2 separate regions of the Homo sapiens genome follow, and region 2 is linked to region 1. Evidence: promoter capture Hi-C in 16 types of primary human blood cells and fetal thymus (Javierre and others, 2016). All regions are on one chromosome and are shown on one strand. The core of a region is centred on a gene start or on the middle of the fragment in contact, and the rest is flanking DNA. Distances in the headings are between cores, read along the strand shown.

The links. Contacts are between HindIII fragments. The CHiCAGO score rates a contact against its expected background, and 5 or more counts as called.
Region 2: a fragment that was not itself captured here is called in contact with the fragment with the promoter of SPTY2D1 in region 1 in 1 of 17 cell types (neutrophils); the score reaches 5.1 in neutrophils.

The regions. Positions count from the first base shown.
Region 1 is chr11:18,631,646-18,638,249 of GRCh38, forward strand. It overlaps SPTY2D1 (SPT2 chromatin protein domain containing 1), which reads right to left and starts at 2,697. Exons shown (of 6, transcript NM_194285.3): 1 at 2,553-2,697. The coding sequence starts at 2,612. LOC105376578 (a long non-coding RNA gene) reads left to right here and starts at 2,704. Exons shown (of 2, transcript XR_931097.3): 1 at 2,704-3,316; 2 at 4,235-4,348. RefSeq lists a silencer at 1,682-1,861 and an enhancer at 2,918-3,187. The HindIII fragment of the contact is 3,460 bases long and covers 1,393-4,852 here.
Region 2 is chr11:18,488,764-18,495,367 of GRCh38, forward strand. All of the region lies in intron 7 of TSG101 (tumor susceptibility 101), which reads right to left. It also overlaps the pseudogene YWHABP2. Among named protein-coding and RNA genes, the nearest start is that of TSG101, 35 kb to the right of the region's middle. The HindIII fragment of the contact is 2,344 bases long and covers 2,768-5,111 here.

The DNA.
Region 1 (6,604 bases), core at 1,447-3,946:
TAGATGGCAAAAAAAGAAAAAAAGCTTTATTTCTTTTAAAATAGATGGAATAAATATGGGGAAATGTTAATATGCTAAATACGGGGTTTGGGTATATTAGAAATGTGTTAACATTCCTTATGTTTGAAAGTGTCCAAATTACTTTAAGCTGATAAGGAAAAAGTAAATAGAACAGTTAGATGAATCAAGTTAAAGCAAATCAAGTAAAGCATGAAATTTGGCCGGGTGTGGTGGCTCACACCTGTAATTTCAGCACTTTGGGAAGCCGAGGTGGGCGAATGACTTGAGGAAGGAGTTCAAGACCAGCCTGGCCAACATGGTGAAACCCTGTCTCTACCAAAAATACAAAAGTTAGCTTGATGTGGTGACAGGTGCCTGTAGTCCCAGTTACTCAAGAGGCTGAGACAGGAGAATTGCTTGAACTCAGCAGGTGGAGGCTGCAGTGAGCCGAGACCATGCCACTGCACTCCAGCCTCCAGCCCGGACGACAGAGTGAGACTCTATCTTAAAAAAAAAAAAAAAGAAGAAGAAGAAATTTAACTACAGTCTTATCCTATTCCTCAATAGTTTCTTTTGTGACTTTAATTCCACATAAAAAGATAAGAATTATAATGCTGGTAACTAAATCAAACTTCTAGGCTTACTAGCTTTGGCGGGGAGAGGTCAGAGAATGCATGATTCATAAAATATATGGCTATATTATCTATTGATTTTTTTTTTTTTGAAATGAAGTTTTTCTCTTGTTGCCCAGGCTGGAGTGCAATCGCACGATCTCAGCTCACTGCAATCTCCGCCTCCTGGGTTCAAGCAATTCTGTCTCAGCCTCCCAAGTAGCTGGGATTACAGGCGCACACCACCATGCCCGGCTAATTTTTGTATTTTTAGTAGAGATGGGGTTTCATCATATTTGTCAGGCTGGTCTCAAACTCCTGACTTCAGGTGATTCTCCCGCCTAGGCCTCCCAAAGTGCTGGGATTACAGGCCTGAGCCATTGCGCCCATCTATTAAATTTTAAATTACTTTTTTCCCCTTTTTGATTCTTCTGTTATTCCAATCATAGATAATGCATATATTATGACATATACACATATTTTGAAATTTTCTGCTTTAGGATTATCTGTCTGCTTTTCTCCCAGCAGCTACTGGCTTTCAGAATAAGAAATGACTTAGTTCTGATTCTTCCACAGAACAGTACTGGGCATCAAAGCTAGTACTATCTTTGACCTTTACTGAAATTCAATAAGATCTAGAATGAAATACAGACCAAATTATGCAAAGATGAATGGTTACTAGACCCAATATTGATTCATCTGGAAAATTTACAGATGCTTCTAGAAAGTAAATCTGTTGATCTGGGTTTCAAAGGTTTGAGTCTATACCTTCAACATGCAAAGCTTATGACTCACGGCTTAGAGGAATGGTTATTCAGAGTTCTTGGGATAAGGGATGGCTGTGTGTGTGTATATATACATATATTTATAAACATAAATATAGACCTTTTTCAGATCAATATTTTCAAAGGGATAAAAGAATGAACTAGCCTCAGAAGACAAAAAAAAGCTGCAGAAGAGAAAAAAACGAATATTGCAATATACGAATATCTAGGAAATGCAGAGCACTTCGTCGGAGCTCAATAAATTCTAGCTGAATTGACTTTGAGAGCCGTTTTAGTTCTATACCTCACTGCTCAAACCGCAGGCATCACCATGCAACTTATCGGTTTACAGCTGTGCTGTGGGTACCATCTGAAAATCTGGAAATGATTAGCTTATGCAAAACAGCCATAACCCCCAGAAACCAGGCGCTCTCCACCACTTTACCATTTAAGTCTTACACCGCTCTTGCGACTGTAAGCGAACTGACAAACATCTACTGACCAAATGGGACCTAGATTTTAAACAAAGACTGAAATCTGGAAGGCTACAAGTAAACAGAAGCTGAAACTAGCTCACCTATTCTGTTGGCCAAGGATTTCGTGGAATCTGCTAAACTTCTCTTCCCAAAAGATGATACCTATCCCCTGGGAGGTGATAATTTAATCACCTCGGTGGCTGAGTGGGTGGGGCCGAGTCAGAGAATTCTTTCAAGAAATCGCTAAACGTTTGACTTGAAGATCGATGAGAAGCCAGCCAAAAAGCTATCAAGCCAAGGACCCCAAACCCCCTAACTCCCTTACATACATATTTCCTTCCCAATCTCTAGGCTGAAGTTTATGTGGAAGCCAAAAACTACCAGCGCTAGAATCCACAGCGTGCCAGGCACAGCTCACTCACGGCTTTCACGCAATTCTAGCTACAACACCCAAACCGCAAAGTCCCTGTTGCAGGGGTAAATAAGCCGGCGAAACCCATTCACAGGAAGGCTCCCGCGTCTCGTCCCAAGCTCTTTTCTCCCGAGTTCCCAAGAGTATAAACCCAAGAAAAGGAAATAAGGCGTCCGGGTCTTTCCTCTCCCGGAGCCGATAGGCGGCTGCCCAGAAGTTCCATGGGCCACACACATTCCGAACTTGGAAGACTAGGGTCCCCTACATTGATGCCCCAGCTGCTACTTACCGGCACATTGTTGACACCTTGTCCCTTGGAAGCTATCATGAGAATTTCTCTGAAGTCCATGTTGGGCCGAGGCGGGAGAGACTGGGCCAGGCACTCGGAAAGGACTGACAGCGCACCTAACCGAGGCGCCCAGCTACAGCCAACTGCACTGCCTCGGGAGCCCCACTCCCACCCCGCCTCTGCGGGACCACTTCCGGCGCCTTCCTATGCCGTCTGCCCGCCCCCTTCCCTCCACGGCCTATATCCTTTCAGGGCCGCCACAGCGCTCGCGAGTCCCTGCGTAACTTCCGCTTTTAGGCCGAGACACGTACAAACGTGATACGTGGCTGCTGGCGTCGACCCGAGGGGCAGGGACTAGGCATTTTAGCAACCAAGGGGGTGTGGCTAAGCGAGAGAGCGGCTTCCCTGGTGGCCCGGGCGCGCGGTCTTGTCATCTTGTTGCTCCTTGTGAGCGCTGGGTAGAGAAAGTGAGGGGGTAGAGGGTTTACTTGCCAGGCCTGGGTTCTCTGGGTGTCACGGGTAGGCGCTTAGATCCAAAACGGCGGCGCCACAACAGCTGAACAGACGGATCTCGAGCCGGGGTTTGGGCTACTTGTGTCTAGGCGCTCGCGAAGCTGCGCAGGCGCACACAGCAGCGCCGTGGTCCTGTCTTGGATGCCCATTACTCATCAAATTCGGCCACATGCCGTGCGCTTACCTCCTACTCAGATGCACGCGTGCCGGGGATGGGGGCACGCGCTTACTTCTTTTGCCCCGTTTAGAAAGTAAGTTTTATGTGGAGCAGCCAACCTGTGTTTTTGCTCAGGCAATGGATTAAGGAATTTCACATACAGACCCAGCCTTGACATAACTTTGGTGTACTGATGAACATATGCTTCATATTCATATTCATTGGGATCCTAGTCCTGACTTCTTTTGGAGAGTTATCTTGGATCTGTAAGGTCATTTCGACTTAGCAAAAACACTGAAAATAATTAGGCAAACCTGGGTCTGCAAGTGGGAACCCGCCAGGGGATTGATAGCAAACAGGTACTCGGGATCTTTTCGGTGGGATGGAAATGCCTCCAAACTGGATTGTGGGGATGGTTGCACTATACATGTACTAAAAATCGTACACTTAAGACGGGTGAGAATGATACAGTATGTAAATATGTCAAGCTGTTAAAACATGCTAGACAGGCCGAGCGCGGTGGCTCACGCCTGTAATCCCAGCACTTTGGGAGGCCGAGGCGGGCGGATCACGAGGTCAGGAGATCGAGACCATCCCGGCTAAAACGGTGAAACCCCGTCTCTACTAAAAATACAAAAAATTAGCCGGGCGTAGTGGCGGGCGCCTGTAGTCCCAGCTACTTGGGAGGCTGAGGCAGGAGAATGGCGTGAACCCGGGAGGCGGAGCTTGCAGTGAGCCGAGATCCCGCCACTGCACTCCAGCCTGGGCGACAGAGCGAGACTCCGTCTCAAAAAAAAAAAACAAAAAACATGCTAGACAAAGCTGCTGGCTCTTACTCTTTGATGGTTTAATGCTGCGAACGTAATTCAAAATCAAAGCTGTTGGAACTTTAAGTTATTTTGCGCCTTAAAAGAATGTTATTATGGAACCTGAGCTACATAACAGGCAGCTGCGTTTGTTCCTCTGATTATAGATTAGCCTTTCTTTCCTACATCGTTTTGTGAAAACACAGGGAGAAGACAGCCATGTACAAACCAAGGAGAGAGACCTCAAGGTAACCACACCTTGATCATGGAATTCTAGCCACCAGAATTGTTAAGACAATAAATGTCTGTTGTTTAGGCCACCTAGTCTGTGGTACTTTGTTATTGGCAGCCCTAGCAAACGAATACACTGGCATATGGTGTTTTCAATTAATGCCAACCATCATTTCTCAAGGAAGCTCTTCCTGAGCTATCTCAGGGCCCCTTTTATAAATTCTTACAGCCCCCCAGTATTTCCCTTCATGCAACATTTTACAGTTTGTAATTACATATTTGTTCTTTTTTTTTTTTAAACTATTGGCTATATCTGTGATAGACAGAGCTATGAAAATGGGCATAAGCCTATTTTACCCATCACTATTTCCATCACCAGCACAGTTCCCTGCTAATGCACATAAAAGTTGCAACAAAGATTTTTTGACCAAATTAATGAATCGATAAGTGGAAAGCTCCCAAGATTCAATATTGTAGTACTTAGCATACATTGAGCCATTACTATATGCTTAGTGCTTGACATGGATTATCTGACTTGATCATGAGTGTTGTATAAGGCATTTCCTGTTACTGTTTTATAGATGAAAAGCTGAAGCTTGAAGAGATGAAATTAGACTTATACTGTACCATTAGTCAATCGGAGAGCCAAGACTAGAACCCTTAGATTACCCAAACCAGACTCTATATTTCAGTTAGCCCATTTGAACTGGTACAAGTCTATGTACATGGAGTTATAATGTAAAAAAGGGCTTGGATTAGGTAACTAATACCTAGTTAGTCAAAATCAAGAACAACTGCTGGAGGTGGGAATGAGGTAAGGAATGAGAGGAGCAATTTTCCTGTATCCTTGTAAAACATTCTATCATCGAGTTCAGCAAATACTTCCTGGGAAACTACTACTGTGTGCCCAACCTTATGGATGATACAAAGAAAGACCCATATCCTGCCTGCCTGATCAGAACTTTTAATTCTTGTGTGAACACAAGTAACAATTATGTAAAACAGAAAGTGCTAACTGTATTAGGGATACAAAGTGTGGGGAATAGCGTTGCCAGATTTAGCAAATAAAAATGTGGACATCCAGTTAGGATCTTGCTCTGTCACTCAAGCTGGAGTATGGTGGTGCAATCACGGCTCACTGCAACCTCGACCTGGGCTCAAGCCATCCTCCCACCTCAGCCTCCCAAGTAGCTGGGACCACAGGTGTATGCGACCACGCCTGGTTAAATTTTGTATTTTTTGTAGAGATGAGGTTTCACCATGTTGCCCAGGCTGGTCTTGAACTTCTGAGCTCAAGTAATCTGCCCGTCTGGGATTCCCAAATTGCTGGGATTCCCAAATTGCTGGGATTATAGGCATGAGCCACCATGCCCAGCCCATCCAGTTAAATTGGAAAGACATACACCAAAAATCATTTGTTGTTTATCTGAAATTCAACTTTAGGTGTCTTGTATTTATCTGGCAACTCTAGAAGTGTTGGAATTCCAGCTACAACATTACATTTAGAGAGTGTGAAAAGCACATTAAAGGGTTGAAAGAACAAGTAGTGGGTGTATTTAGGAGAATGCTAGGAAATAAAGGTCAGAAAAGTAAGTGAAGGTCGGGCGAGGTGGCTGACACCTGTAATCCCAACACTTTGGGAGGCCGAGGCAGGCGGATTGCCTGAGGTCAGGAGTTCGAGAACAGCCTGGCCAACATGGCAAAACCCTGTCTCTACAAAAATACAAAAATTTGCTGGGCATGGCGGTGGGTGCCTGTAGTCCCAGCTACTTGGGAGGTTGAGGCAGCAGAATCGTTTGAACCCGGGAGATGGAGGTTGCAGTGAGCCGAGATCATACCACTGCACTCCAGCCTGGGTGACAGTTAGACTCTGGGCATGAGGAAGGACAGGTGAGTGTGATACTTCAGGATACTTGGTGATGAAGAAAAGGCGAGTGATATGCAATAACCAGGGTGGTGGGTAGAGGCTGTTGGTAAAAAGGTAAACTCGGGTAGTATGAACCAGAAAGAATGGAATGAACTGGGTCTTTGCCAACCGCAGGTCCAGGCTCTGCTGTGGAAGGGCTGTGTGTCCTTAGGCAAGTTTCTGTTTTGTACTTTTTGATGTATGGCACAGTATTTGAATATAAGGTTTGATGTAAAAAATTTTCAAACAAAAAAATAACATAAAGCTCCCATCAGCCTCCCTCAATCTCATCTCCCTCCCTAGAGGATATTACCATATAAAGTTGCTGAGTGTGCTTCTGAGATGTTCGTGTACACAAAATTATGCCTAATGTACAATATATAATGTACATATATAAATGTTCTATATATATATGTAGGATACATAGAACATATAATAT
Region 2 (6,604 bases), core at 2,690-5,189, 140 kb before region 1:
AAAGGAAGGAAGCAGAAGGACAGAAATTTAGAGAGGAGGGAAGGGAAAACCAAAGTCAACAGTCAAAAAGGATGATGGGGGGCCGGGCGCAGTGGCTCACACCTGCAATTCCAGCACTTTGGGAGGCCAAGGCGGGTGGATCATGAGGTCCAGAGATCGAGATCAACATGGTGAAAACCCATCTCTACTAAAAATACAAAAATTAGCTGGGCGTGGTGGTGCGTGCCTGTAGTCCCAGCTACTTGGGAGGCTGAGACAGGAGAATCGCTGGAACCCGGGAGGCGGAGGTTGCAGTGAGCCGAGATCATGCCACTGCACTCCAGCCTGACAACACAGCAAGACTCCATCTCAAAAAAAAAAAAGGATGGTGGGAAAGAATGTTTTGATTTCAAAATTTAAAAGCCCCAAGCCAGGAAATTCAGTACTCCTCAAGTGAAAGGCAATCTCTACAGAACATCATTCTATTTTTTTTTTTTTTTGGAGATGAGGTCTCCCTACGTTGTCCAGGCTGGAGTGCGGTTATTTCACAGGTGCAACCACAGGGCACTGCAGCCTTAAACTCCTACGCTCAGGCGATCCTCCTGCCTCGGCCTCCCAAGTAGTTGGGACTATATGCCTACACCACCATGCCTGACTCAGAAGATTATTCTTAAAGGTATTATCCAGGAAACAGATAAGGTCATTCATAAAACACATGGCTTTTCTTTAGCTCAGTGTTAACAATGAAAATAGATTCCATTATTGAAGCACAAGTTGCAAATTGGTAACAAAGTGAACACACTGCAGTAGAAAAGGGGATTTAGTCAGGTGTGTTATATGAGCACTTGGACTTTTCAAGGTGTCATAAGCCAGTTATCTGCCACAAAGAATTTAAATTTCAGGATTCGAGTTTCTTCAGAGGAAGACACTGTGGACATCTGTGGTCATGAACTTTTGAGTGGCAACAGCCCAAACAGGTCAAGTGTCTTTAAGTGCCAAACAACAGGCAGCATTACTATGAATTACCATTAAACTCAAATGCCAAATGATGTGTGTCTCACTCCAGGTTCTAGCATCATAATATAATCTCTATAACCTTCTGTACAACTTTACAATGGAATTGTATTTCAATGATTCTGGTATCAGATTAAACTTTCCAAAAAGTTACACATAATTCAGGTCTATTTTTTCTACAAGTAAGAGTTTTGCTAAATTACAAAACCCCATAATCACAGTGTTGAATTAAAAAAAATTAAACACACAGTAATCCTGTCAATGTTAATCAAAATCAAAACTTCAGAATGCCGTGGCATTTATGTGACCAATCTGAGTTTTAGAATACAAACACCAGCTGTTTATCCCATGAACCATTTTTGCTAGGCTGAGGCTGTGAAAAATCCAAAGTCAACATACAATTATTTTTTACCACACAAGGGATATACGTGGAGGGTACAGAGTGACATTGAACAGATTACAAAGCACAAGAAACATTACTTCTCTCCCTCCCCAGCATCTCCTTCATCTTCCTGGTTTTCCGATGTCCACAGAGTAACACTGTCCCAAGTAATTGCATGATCAGAGTGCTGTCTTTATAAGACTCTTCATTCAGTGTATCCAATTCAGTAATTGCTTCATCAAATACTGTTTTTGCCAGGCTGCAGGCCTTTTCAGTAGAGTTTAGAATCTCATAGTAAAAGACTGAGAAATTAAGTGCCAGACCAAGTCAAACTGGATGTGTAGGCTGCATTTCTTCTTTCTTACTAATTTCAAATGCTTCCTGGTAAGCCTGCTGGGAATTCCACACAGTGGTTTGTTTGTTGTCTCCAGATGCCACTTCAGAAAAATACCTAAAATAATCTCCTTTCATTTTCAAATAGAAAATGGTTGTATAGAATTGAGAACAAGATATTTGTCCAACAGCTCCAGAACGTCATTGCAGATGTCCTGCAGTTCTGCCTCTATCTTCTCATGCTACTCTCTCCCCATCTGCTGCTGTTTCTCATTCCTCTGTTTTCTGCTCAATGCTGGAGAAGACATGCCAGGAAAGCAGCGGGCACCAACCATGTTCTTGTAGGCAACAGAGAGCAGATTTCTCTCTTCGTTGGAGTATTCATGCCTCGTTCTGTGACTGCCTTCGTGACTACAGCCATATCATCATAGCGCTCAGCCTGCTCAGTGAGTTGGCTTTCTGTACCAGCTCACTTTTATCCAGTCGTTCCCGTGGGAGGGCTGCAGGGGACGAGGATGCTTCTGAGCAAAGCTCCAAGTGAGGTGACCACTTCTTTCCCAAGCCCACTCCTCTGGCAGCGGTGGCGGTGCCTGCCGTGGCTGCAGCGACGGTAGCAGCAGCTCCTGTATTCGGATATTTTTAAAGTTCAAGCAAAATAAGGCAAAATGCCTTACAGCTTGGTTCTGTGTAGTAAAGAATTAACTTTACCCAGAGAGGCCACGCCTTTGCCCTTGGCTCCTGGAGGTGATGTCTAAGCCCTCAGAACTTCCTGACTAATTAGAGTGTTCTTTATCTACACCAGACAGTCTAACAGTGTGATTTATGGGGGGGTCTGGGCCATGCAGTGATAGGTAACAGCTCAACCTCTGGAGGAGCTGGAGACTAAAGGTCAGCCTCACAGGCAGTCAATGGTGTCTATATGACCAAGTCCTGATAAAAACTCTAGACCCAAGGCTCAGGTGAGCTACCTTGGTGGGTAATACTCCATGCATAATGATACATACTGTTACTGGGAAAAGTCAGCACTGCCTATGACTCCACTGGGAGAAGACAACTAGAAGCTTTGCACTTGAAACTTTCTGGGTTGCCCACGTGTCTTTCCTCAGCCTATTTTAATCTGTATCTTTTGCCATAAGTCATAACTGTGAGTATAATAGCTTTCAGTGAGCTTTTAAAGTCCTTCTAGATAATTATAGAACTTTAGGGTGGCCTTGGGAAACCATGAACTTGCAATGAGTGTCAGAAGTGCAGGTGGTTTTGTGAACTTCCAAACTTTACAGGTCCTTAACTAAAGAGTATTTTCTTACCTAATCAAGAACTTGCTCTTCATGGCAATTTGTAGAATAAGTCGGTCTACTTCAAATGAGGCCATATAAAAAGGCAACACATCTTTCCACACTCACTGAACATACAGATTAAAATACGTCAGAGAGTGAGCTCTCTTTCACAGACTTAATATGAATTAAAGTCTTAGCTGTTCAGTCATCTGGACAGAATTTAGACCGAATAAAAATCTCTAATTTCTTATACTGTACTTAAAAAGTCCTTTAAAGAAAGTGAAAAAGAGCCAATTTCTACAAGAGTTTGGTTTAGAATTTCATATCCAAAGGATGATTCATGATATGATGACTATTGAAGATTTCATTAAGTCCCCAGTTTATAGTAAGGCTGCATTAGCAAAAGGAATTTTAAAACCTTTCTAGAAGAACCTGTCTTATAATCTATATGAAATATTATGATGGTTCTTGTGAGACAGGAAGGAAAATCCTTCTCCCATAGATTACGTACCTAAATGATATGTCTATAATTAAGCATTCAATCACATGCAACAGTGGTGGTATTCCATTCATTGGCACAGAAGTTATCAGAACTAATGAAAACTTAAGAGTCTTTTTATAGTTAGTGAATTTTTCACACATAAACACATCAACATACTTTGTTAAAGCTATTATATCTGGTCTAATGGGTCAAATTATACTGATGCTAAATTTTTAAATCCTTATTTTTAAAAACACACATTTAAATCCTGGAATTTACATTCTGTTTCTCTTTATAGAATATGTTCAGGCAAATGCTACCATAATACCACCAAATAAGTCCTTGCCAAGACTTTCCAGCCAAAGTCATTAACCCTCAAAATAAGAACCAAGCCGAGGCAGCAGTCGCTTGGCCTATAAAGGTCACAGTTCACCTGAGGAAGTTACAAACACCAAGATTAGACCTAGTCTTATCTCTATCACACATAGACTTCACTGTGAAGTATATCTAAACTTTAAAAAATCGAACTACTTTGTAAAAAAAAAAAAAGGAATTATAACTAAGATCTGAAATAAGAAAGTAAAAAAAGAAAAACCCAGAGTTTTTCAAAGAAGTAAAAGAAAAACTCATCAAAGTTCAAAATTCGATGAACCATGCCACTTTAAGATAATGTTTATGCAAACAAATAAGAAAAAAGATTTGGTGGAAGATTCTCATCTACTTTGTGAACACTTACCAAACCAAACTTTCTTCTCAAACATCTTAGAAGAAATTTGAATATTCTCTATACCTGCTATAACAAGAATAAGAAGAGTTTTTGGCAAACTGCCATACCCCAAGTCCCCAACACACTGACCTTTTTACTCAAGCAGAGTCAGATTTCAAAAGTGCCCTTCTACAATTCCAGATTAGCAGTTGAAGAGCTAACAGACTTTGAGTAACAATCTTAAGCAAAACTTCCTTTAAATGTCAGGTAGGATCTGATCTCCAAACTTAATCCTTAGGAAATAAGATATAATTTTTCTAGTATTAGGAAACCAACACTCTACACTCAATGGACCCAAAAATTCATTGAATAATTTATGCAAGTATATTCACAGTGCACTAGTATACACTACCTGATTTAAAGCCACTATTTAAACACTTAAGACACCCGGTTTCATTTATCTCCTAAGAGTATTTACAAACGATCACTACTTCCTGGAACTCAAATGAAGCTATTTTATATTAGAGAAAGAATCCATAAGCCCAAAGTAAACTATAACTCAACGATAATTTTTCTGACCTCACCCTTAATCAGCAAAAGTAAACTACCTGCCCAGCATTTTTACTCCTGGATGTTACTTGCTCAGGCCCACATAATGGTCCTAGGTCTGGCATCTGTGCTACACAGCAAACTATGGAGCCCAAGTAATCCCACACAGTAGCTTACTGACCATCTATTTAGAAACTAGACCGAGAACATATGAGGATTATTTTTCTTTCATAATAAAAAACAAAAAACAGGTCTATCTCTGAAGAAGGAAGAACATTTCAGACAACTGTATGAGCAAAGGAGTTCTGATCTGTGCTATTAAGTGCAAACACTGCAAATCCATTACATGGCTTACAAAAGTCCTTTTTATTTATAGTGTATGAATATGTAAGCTTCTAATACTACTTACAGGCTTTGTGCAGGCTATGGAGCTTTTCTTCCAAAGAAATTAGGGGGCCTCAATTTATCTTTTAAACACTCAGAAAAATGCGCTTTACTTGAGCTCTAGAAAGTTTCTATCAACACAATCAATAAGAAAAAATTTAAAGAAAGCTATCAGCAGGTTTACACTTCTTGAAAATAAACACACACCACAAAAAAAGTTTAAATTCATTTACATAAAAATTAAAGTTTTCAAAAGTGAAGGTAAGTAGGTATAAGTCTTGCTAAAATGAGACAGCAAAATAATAACTACTCCAAAAAAGAAACAGTGTGACAAAATCATTCAGCTATCATAGTAAGTCATAAAAGATGAAAGATGCTACCTGGTAGGCATAAGCACAAAAGCCAATAAATCTGAAGGAGAGTTAAAATTCTATTCTTAAAAAAATGAATCAGAATCAAAGTAATTCCATTAAAATTAACGTTTTGTGAAAAGACTAATTTAAGAATCTATTATGTTAGAGGTATTCTATAGGAATAACGACAGGAAGCCAAATGAATCAGCTTCTCCTACCTTTCCTTTACTAACAAAATAAAAATCATTTGTTAACTTACACAATAGCTTTTTTAAAAGCTTTCAAATCTATCATTATTGCTTTGAATTTCTGTTATCATTATTTCTGTTATCATTATTGCTTTGGCAGAAAAGGATTTAACATTTAGCAGACTAAACTCTCAGCATTTAAATTTCACTCATGACTCACTGACTGTCCAGGATTGGAAGAAAACGCTACTTATCCTGAAGATGAGGCAGTTATTCCCAAAGGAAGTCTGTGAAAGGTGTGGGGAAGAGGCACCCAAACCTGCACACAAGCAAGCGTGCACTAGTAAACCCACATGGGCTGGGTGCCTTGGGTGCCATATCCTGAAAGTACAGTTTCTGTAGGCCAAACACTTAATCTAGGATGGCCAGAGGGAAGAACAGCATTGGATAAGACAGTCAAGAAAAACTTGTCATGTTTACTAGCTTCTGTCCTCAAAGAAATATTAACAGGTAAGCTCTCTTATTTTTCTTCACCTTTTCCTTTCTTTATCTAAATATTCAGTATGGACTAAAGAGTGGAAACTACAGAAACACATCATTCAGCTGCAGCATTTTCAGGGTTTTCCACTCCCACATTTTTAAACAACACTTTAACAAAGGTAAAACTGGTCCCTGAATCTCTGTTAATAGCACCCTTCCAAACTTACTGTTTCTGATCCTTGTTTATTTGATTTTTAGGAACAAAATCTTAAAATGACATTTTTAAAACTCAGAGGTTGAAATATACAGTATTTATGAAGTTTTACCAAGAAAAATTCTGTGGTAGGTATTGGCTTTAACCGGGAATAAACACCTACTCTTCAATTTTACTATTATTAAACTGCAACTACTGAAAGGTCAAACTGTGTATATGTTAAAGGCCTAAAGCCTAGGATTCAGAGCTATAAATCAACTACAA